2 separate regions of the Homo sapiens genome follow, and region 1 is linked to region 2. Evidence: promoter capture Hi-C in human tissues and cell types (Jung and others, 2019). All regions are on one chromosome and are shown on one strand. The core of a region is centred on a gene start or on the middle of the fragment in contact, and the rest is flanking DNA. Distances in the headings are between cores, read along the strand shown.

Evidence for each region. The method cuts DNA at HindIII sites, captures the fragments that hold promoters and counts their contacts. A contact is called where the count stands out against the background at its distance.
Region 1: a contact is called between a fragment that was not itself captured here and the fragment with the promoter of NDUFA12 in region 2, in 1 of the 25 tissues and cell types used here (heart right ventricle).

Annotation. Positions count from the first base shown.
Region 1 is chr12:94,253,609-94,257,834 of GRCh38, reverse strand. It overlaps PLXNC1 (plexin C1), which reads right to left. Exons shown (of 31, transcript NM_005761.3): 16 at 2,947-3,048; 17 at 2,539-2,642. Among named protein-coding and RNA genes, the nearest start is that of PLXNC1-AS1, 79 kb to the right of the region's middle. The HindIII fragment of the contact is 5,652 bases long and covers 1-4,226 here.
Region 2 is chr12:95,002,123-95,006,492 of GRCh38, reverse strand. NDUFA12 (NADH:ubiquinone oxidoreductase subunit A12) reads left to right here and starts at 2,796. Exons shown (of 4, transcript NM_018838.5): 1 at 2,796-2,898; 2 at 3,672-3,754. The coding sequence starts at 2,813. RefSeq lists enhancers at 2,674-3,073, 2,538-3,165. The HindIII fragment of the contact is 12,199 bases long and covers 1-4,370 here.

The sequences.
Region 1 (4,226 bases), core at 1,461-3,960, 750 kb after region 2:
CCCAGGTTCACACCATTCTCCTGCCTCAGCCTCCCGAGTAGCTGGGACTACAGGCGCCCGCCACCATGCCTGGCTAATTTTTTTGTATTTTTAGTAGAGACGGGGTTTCACTGTGTTAGCCAGGATGGTCTTGATCTCGGGTTCAAGCAATTCTCTGCCTCAGCCTCCCGAGTAGCTGGGATTACAGGTGCACGCCACCATGCCTGGCTAATTGTGTATTTTTAGTACAGACGGGGTTTCACCATGTTGGCCAGGCTGGTCCCTAACTCCTGACCTCAAGTGATCCACCCGCCTCGGCCTCCCAAAGTGCTGGGATTACAGGCTTGAGCCACCGCGCCTGGACCCGTGGCTCTCTGAGTTTTAAGGCTGCTTCCTCCTTTCATTCAAATTTCCCTTTTCTTCAGCTTAGATCCTCTGCCTACCCTTATTTCTTCTCCTACTTTATGCAAAGCAAAGAAGAGTCAATAAAATAAAAAGCAAGGCTTTAAAAGCCAAAACCGACAGGCAGAGCAAAGAACCCTGGCCTCCTTTGAGAACCTACAATCTCCTCTGGATTTTGCCTGTTGCTTTTTTGTAGGTGCTGAACACCCAAATCCTACCCCCACAGCCCCCAACCTCCAGGCCTAGAGGATTCGGCTTCTGATCAATCCATAAAGAGCCTAATTAATACCAGGACTTATCTGCAGCCTGGAATGCATTTAAGTGGCATTGTCTTCTTACGATCTGTTTCCCTGTTCTATCTTTTCTTAATTATTATAAAATCAGTTTTGACTTAGGTCTTCTTGAAAGGGTTCTGACAAATTTATGCATGTTTTTTCCTGGGTTCTCTCCTTTAAACAACTTCTGACTTCAATTTTTATGACTTTCCCAGTTGTTTTTCAAGATTATACACAACACTGAGTTAAATCAGTTTGCCTCCTTTGCAACTATCTCTCTTCTCCTAAAATAAGGTAGCATTGTTCCTGGGATCTTTTTTTTTTTTTTTTTTTTGGAAACACTCAACTTGCAACAGTGTTCCTTTACATTCATTACTCTATCTTGTTCTTGATTACCAAATTTAGAAGATAAGAACATTTCTTTTTTCAGGCCACAGATTATTCAGCACTCAAGGGCAATCATTAACTGTAAAAGCCCACACAGCATTCATGTTGATAGTCAAAAATCTCCGTTATTTTATTGCTTTTAAATTCTTAATGGGGATCTCAGATAGCTCAGAAATAGGACTCGTGATGCAACCTTTGCAGAAGCCCCACACAGTCATCCTGATTCGGGGAATCGAATTCCTTTCCCCAGGCGGTGTTCTGCCATAGAAATGGATGAGGTGGCAAATGGTAGATCTCGGTGCCTCGGTACTCTTGGAGGATAAGTTAAAGGAAACAAACTTCACCAGCACAAAAAGCTGAAGTCTTATTTACAGCCTTCTTGATTTATAACACTAAGGCTTGGACCAAAAAATATGGCAGGTGTTTTATGGAGGCATTCCAACCTCCAGACCCCGCATTACATATCATGGTGTCCTCTTCTAAATTATAGAGAAACTGGAAATTGCTTACTGCATGTGTCTGGGTTTCTGAACTCTAGGCTTCTGGCCAATTGTTCCGGAGAAGCTTCTGGTAAGGTGATACAAACTCTCCTTTGGCCTGGAGAGATTTCAGCCGTTGCTTAGAAGTCTAGATTGAAATGTGATCATTGGTATTGATGTGTTTAAGAGGTTGGGCCTCTATGTGGTCATCATACCGCAAAAAAGAAGGGCAATATGGCAGAGCTGGGGTATCAGGACATGGCAGTGATGATACGCAGGATGAGTGTACCTCGCCAAAGACTTGGGAGGGTAAATGGAGAAGGCTGAGTGAGTGGGTGAGAAAATGGAGGCGTGAGAACATAGGTAAGACCAGCAACCCAAAAGGTTAAGTAGACGACTCCTCAGAGCCCTAGAACAAATGAATTAATCAGTTCGTGCATCTACGTCTACTAAATGAGGACAATACAAACTGACCAGCTAAAGAAAAACTACCAAAGAGAACCATAAGAACTCTACATGGCTAAAAATGCCTGTTTTCAACTCCAATTCCATCCATGTCTACTTTCCTCCCTTTTGACCAGTAGTATTTTTCCTTTCCAATTGAGAAGTAATAGTGAATAATCTAGTCACTGCAATGTAAGTCATGCAGATAAACACAACAAATTGGCTAGCTCACAATTTATTGATTTTTAAATAAACTAGCTCACTTCCCAGCTACACATTCAGTTCTACATTGAGAGTAAAAGAAAGCAAAAATCATCACTCTGAGCTTCTGTCCCTCCTAGGTTTTTGTTACTGGGCAAAGAATAATCACCAGTGACCCATCACTGTTTTATACCCTAATCAATGCAATTAATAATTACCCTCCTCCCTGCTCTGCTCAAACTTAAGCCATTATTTTTGTACCAAGCACATTATAGCTGCCTTGGAAGCAAACACTCGTTTTGACAACAGCAACAAGCACCTTCATTATTATTCAAGACTCAACCTTCGGAATATGATCAATGCTCTTTTACCTCAGGGAAGAAAGTTCTCAGAGCAAAATGTTTGTAGTCAAGGAAGGGAACAGTTCCAAAACTATCAACCACATCCAATTTATCCATCTGCAGCTCAGCAAAGCCTGCAAAACAGAATCCCAAGAGCAATATTTTAACTCAACAAACAATGGATAGGATCTTCTGCTGTTTTGTCTAACACAGAGTATGACCTTGGTTTTCATTAAAGAAGAAACAATAGATAATGACTTGGTTGGCTGCAGAGAAGAGCTGAAATAAAACACAAAGCCAGGCCCAGGCCCTGCCCTTCCGTTGCCTTCTATTATACAAACAGTTCTCATTACTGTGGCCATCTCTATGTAAGGGTAAAAAAATAAAAGTATAAATATAAAAGGCTTGTTTTTCTACAAACACAATTTTGGAGCCTACCGTCACGTATCTCTTTCCGGAGCTCGCTTTCCAGCAATTCTAGTTGTTGACTCTGTTTGCGACTCAGCTCCTTCGATTTGTGCCTGGTCACCCCCACGGCCGCTAAGAGACAGAGATGCTGCATCAGAGGGACATGGTAACTCAAAAACCAAAAATGAAAACAAATAGCAATCTTTACAGTTCTTAAAAACAAAAACAAAAACAAAACAGATAGGGACAGAGAGCAGGAGCTAGAATGAAACTAGAAAATAGCATTAAAAAGCTGGATCTTATAAGAAAATTTCCCAGTGAGGGGTCACTCTGAAGAGGAAGATGCCAAAATGCAGCAGAAAAAAACCAAAACCTTACTCATTTTACAAGTGAAAGCTAAATCAAATAACCTTCACTTGTAACCAAAGATCCCAGTTGGCTGAAACGTAATGAAACAAGCCAAGTTTCTTCCCCACAGCTGCAGCCACTTGCATTGTTCCATTGTTTTTGAATGTTTGTAAGCATCCCTGGAGAAATAAAGTTGTGCTGCAAACGTAGAAAGGAACCGCAGATCCACAGTTGGCTACATGGGCCAAACCTGCATAGAGCTAATGGGGTGACATGATGAGCGAGCCACAAGGAACTCCCATACCTCCATATTGCTTCTAACTGTGCTGCAGAGGCCATAAACCAACCCAGTTTGGTGCTTGGGTTCATGTCCTTGCTCTGCCATTTACTAGCTATGTGACCTGGGTTAAGTTCCTCAGCATCTCTGTGCCTGGCTGCCTTCTCTGTAAGAGTGCCTATCTCACTGTGATGCTGGGAGGATTATAAGAAGTAACTCACAAAAAGCATTAAGAATGTATTGTTTAAAAAAGTATAGGTATTCAACAATCAACCACTGTTATTCTAGGAAGCTTCTCCTCCTTATAGAAATTACAGCCAGGTGCGGGGGCTTACGTCTGTAATTCCAGCTCTTTGAGAGGCTGAGGTGGGAGCATGCCTTGAGGCTAGGGGTTTGAGATCAGCCTGGGCAACAGAGAAAGATATTTTTCTGTCTCTACAAAAAAATAGAAAATTAGATGGGTGCGATGGTGCATGCCTGGAGTCCCAGCTACTTGGGAGGCCGAGGTGGGAGGACCACTTGAGCCCAGGAGGTCAAGGCTGCAGTGAGCCGTGATCGTGCCACTGCACTCAGCCTGGGCAAAAAAGTGAGACCCTTTCTCAAAAAAAAAAAAGAAATTACATAATAGACGGGCTCTGCTACCAATAATGCTGGAGGAAACAAATATGGCTCTTCACTGGACTAC
Region 2 (4,370 bases), core at 1,547-4,046:
ACTTCCTGACTTCAAACATTGTACAAAGATGCAGTAATCAAAACAGAGTGGTACTGGCATAAGAACAGACATATAGACCAACGGAGTAGAATAGAGAACCCACTTCCTGACTTCAAAACATTGTGCAAAGATGCAGTAATCAAAACAGAGTGGTATTGGCATAAGAACAGACATATAGACCAACGGAACAGAATAGAGAACCTAGAGTTAAACTCTCAAGTATCTGGTCAAGTGATCTTTGACAAGGGTACCAAAGCTACATAGTGGGGAGAGAATAGTGTTGGGAAAACCGGATATCCGCAAGCAAAAGAATGACGTTCAACCTTTACCCTACACCATATACCAAAATTAACTCAAAATGGACTAAAGACCTAAATGTAAGACCTGAAACTATAAAACTCCTAGAAGACAACGGGGGAAGCTTCATGACATTGGATTTAGCAGTGATTTCTCAGATATGATACCAAAAGCACAGACAAAGTAAAAATAGACAATTGGGGCTACATCAAACATAAACTTCTGCATAGCAAAGGACACAATCAACGGAATGAAAAGATGACCTAGGGAACGGGAGAAAATATCCACGATACATAAAGAATGCCTACAACTCAACAACAACAACAAAAAACCCGATTCAAAAATGGGCAAAGGACTTGAATAAACATTTCTCCAAAGAAGATATACAAATGGCCAACAAGCATATGAAAACATGGTTAACATCAGTAATCAGGTAAATGCAAATCAAAACCACAATGAGGTATCACCTCATCATCCATTAGGATGCCCACTGTAAAAAACAAATGAACACAGGTTGGGCGTGGTGGTTCACGCCTGTAATCCCAGCACTTTGGGAGGCCAAGGCGGGTGGATCACCTGAGGTCAGGAGTTCAAGACCAGCTTGGCCAACATGGTGAAACCTCGTCTCTACTAAAAATACAAAAATTAGCCGGGGGTGGTGGTGGGCGCCTGTAATCCCAGCTACTCGGGAAGCTGAGGCAGGAGAATCGCTTGAACTTGGGAAGGGGAGGTTGCAGTGAGCCGAGATCGCACCGCTGCACGCCAGCCTGGGCAACAGAGTTAGACTCCGTCTCAGAACAAACAAACAAACATACAAACAAACACAGAAAATATGTAGTGTTGGTGAGGAGGTGGAGAAATTGGAACCTTTGTGCATTGTTGTTAGTAATGTAAAATGGTGATGCTGCCATGGAAAACAGTATGGGGATTCCTATAAAAATAAAAAATAAAATTTCCATATGATCTAGCAATCCACTTCTGGGTATATATCCAAAAGAACTGAAAACAGGATCTTAGAGATATCTGCACACCCGTGTTCACTGCAGCATTATTCACAATAGCCAAGAGGCGGAATCAGCAGAAATGTTTATGGACAGGTAACTGGGTGGCATATACATACAGTGGAATATTATTCAACATTTATAAAAAGAAGAAAATCCTGTCATATACTACACTATGGATGAGCCTTGTGGATATCATGCTAAGTGAAATAAGCCAGGTCCTAAAAGACAAACACCTCATGATTCTACTTATATGAAGTATCTAAAGTAGTTAAACTCTTAGAAACAGAAGTAGAATGGTGGTTGGCAGGGGATGGAGAAAGAGGAAAAAGTTGTTCCATGGATATAAAGTTTCTGTTTTGCAAGAAGAATAAGTTCTAGAGATCTGTTGCGCAACAATGTGCATGTGGTTAACACTACTGTACACTTAAAAATGGTTAAAATGGTAAATTTTATATTTTGTGTTTTTAACCACCACTACCAAAAAAAAAAAAAAAAAGCTAGGGAACTAAATTGTTATTTTGAAAACACACATAAGGGAAAGAATCGGCTGGGTGTGGTGGCTTACACCTGTAATCCCAGCATTTTGAGAGGCTGAGGCAGGAGGATCACTTGAGGCCAGAGTTCAAAACCAACCTGGGCAACATAACAAGATGCCCATCTCTAAAAAAAAAAAAATTAGCCAGGGGTGGTGGCACTTACTTAAATGGGAGGACTGCTTGAGCACAGGAGTTTGAGGCTGCAGTGAGCTATGATCACACCACTGTATTTCAGCCTGGGTGACAGAGAGCCTGTCTCTAAAATTAAAAAACAAAAAAAAAGTAAGAGAATCAAGCACCCATACTGCCTTTCCTACATTAATTGTATCTCAGGAGCCAAATAGTTGAAGGGAGGTTTCTCTTTGTAGAAGAATTGTGGTTAACAAATGAAGTAATATTGAAATTTTTTAGGCTCAAGCGATGCTCCCATCTAAGCCTCAGCCTACCGAGTAGCTGGGACTACGGGCACGCGCCACCACATCCAGCTAATTTTTAATTTTTTTTTTTTTTTTGTAGAGACAGAATTCTCGCTGTGTTGGCGAGGCTGGTCTCGAACTCCTGGGCTCAAACGATCCTCCCTACCCGGCCTCCCAAAGTGCTGGGATTACAACAGTGAGCCACCGCGCCCACCAGAGCCAATTATTTTTAGATGAGGAAACTGAAATTCCCAAAGGGGGAATCCCCGTGTGAGAAAGCCTCGTGTAGGTGAGCTTTCCAGCATATGCCCGCCTTCTAGATTTAACCTCTGAAAACTAAATTTTAAGGTACCTTTGCTTCCAGGGGAAACCAATTCTGCCTACTTGGGAAGCCAGAACATGACCGCGTAGGCAAGACCTAGCTCTGCGCACGCGCAGAGCCACCACGTCTGGCGTTCGCGTGAGAACCTTCTGGGCGTGGGCTTCCTGCGGCTGAGTGGCAGCTTCCATCCGGTGGGTTTTGCTCGGCGCACCCGGGAGGCGGGGCCAGCGAGGCAAGATGGAGTTAGTGCAGGTCCTGAAACGCGGGCTGCAGCAGATCACCGGCCACGGCGGTCTCCGAGGCTATCTACGGGTTTTTTTCAGGTAGGCGGCCAGAGCCATGCTCTTGGCCTCTGGGGCTGGACTTTCGCTGGCTGATTTCTTGGAAGGGGTCCCAGGCTCGGGTCACCTTGGAGAATCCACAGCTCTTGTCAAGGACAACCGCCCCAATCTCTGCCTTGCCACCCCCAGGCTGGTCTCTGTCCCATATATCCCCGATACAAGACCGAAGCTATCTGTAGAGTCAGAGCTGTGACTCGGAGGCAAGGGCATCTGGGCTCCCCTCTTTTCCCACGCCCTGGAGAGTAATGAGGATTACAAGACATTAACTCAGTGACCCTGGTAAAGTTTTTTTCCCTGCACTGCCGTACAGTTCCTTGTCTGTAAGGCGTTGAAGGTAATAATGATGGTCCCTTCTCTTCCTGACATTCACTGATCCCACGAGCAGCATAGTTTCGCAGAAACCTAAATGGAGACCCAGAGTGGAATGAAAGAGCCTGGAGACCTTCGTATCATTGTAAGAAGATGAAATACTTTGGCTTTTTGATTTCCTAAAGGTTTTGCTAATTCCAGTGCCTCCTGGCTGAGGGATAGTAGATACAAGTAGTCCTGTAATCTGAAGAGACTACATTTATATTTTTAGTGTAATTTGAGCACATCAGTTGTCAATTCATCTTTTCCCATCCCCAGCACTTCTTCATTTTGCTAGTTGATGCAGCAGCCCTTGTGTCTGAAAGTTGTTACTCTCACTTTATTTCCGTTTATGTTTTGAACTAAGAATCATTCTAAAATGTCTGTTTTCTTTTGGGTATTCACAGGACAAATGATGCGAAGGTTGGTACATTAGTGGGGGAAGACAAATATGGAAACAAATACTATGAAGACAACAAGCAATTTTTTGGTGAGTGCAGTATTTTTTAGTATGAATAATTGGATTGGGATTGGGATTTGATTTGAGTCTATTTTCCATATTATGCAATGAGCTTTTACAAAACACCTGGAAAAGGATGAAAAACTCAATAGAAAATGAAAAAAGATAATTTACAGAAAAAAGAAAAGTAAACAGCCAATGAAGGTATGGAAAAATGCTCATTCTCACTTGTAACAACAGAAATGCAACTTTAAAAACAGTGTTATATATTTTTCACCTATCAAATTTTGAAGTGTTTTTGTTCTTTTTTTTTTTTTTTTTTTTTTTTTTTGAGATGGAGTCTCTGTCGGCCAGGCTGGAGTGCAGTAGCGCGATCTCGGCTCACTGCAACCTCCACCTCCTGGGTTCCAGCGATTCTCCTGCCTCAGCCTGCCTGAGTAGTTGGGACCACAGGCGGGCGCCACCATGGCCGGCTAATTTTTGTATTTTTTAGTAGAGATGGGGTTTCACCATATTGGCCAGGCTGGTCTTGAACTCCTGACCTCGTGATCCACCCGCCTTGGCCCCCCAAAGTGCTGGGATTACAGGCGTGAGCCACTGCGTCCAGCCTTGAGTATTTTTCAAGCTGATAAATCCCAATGTGGGC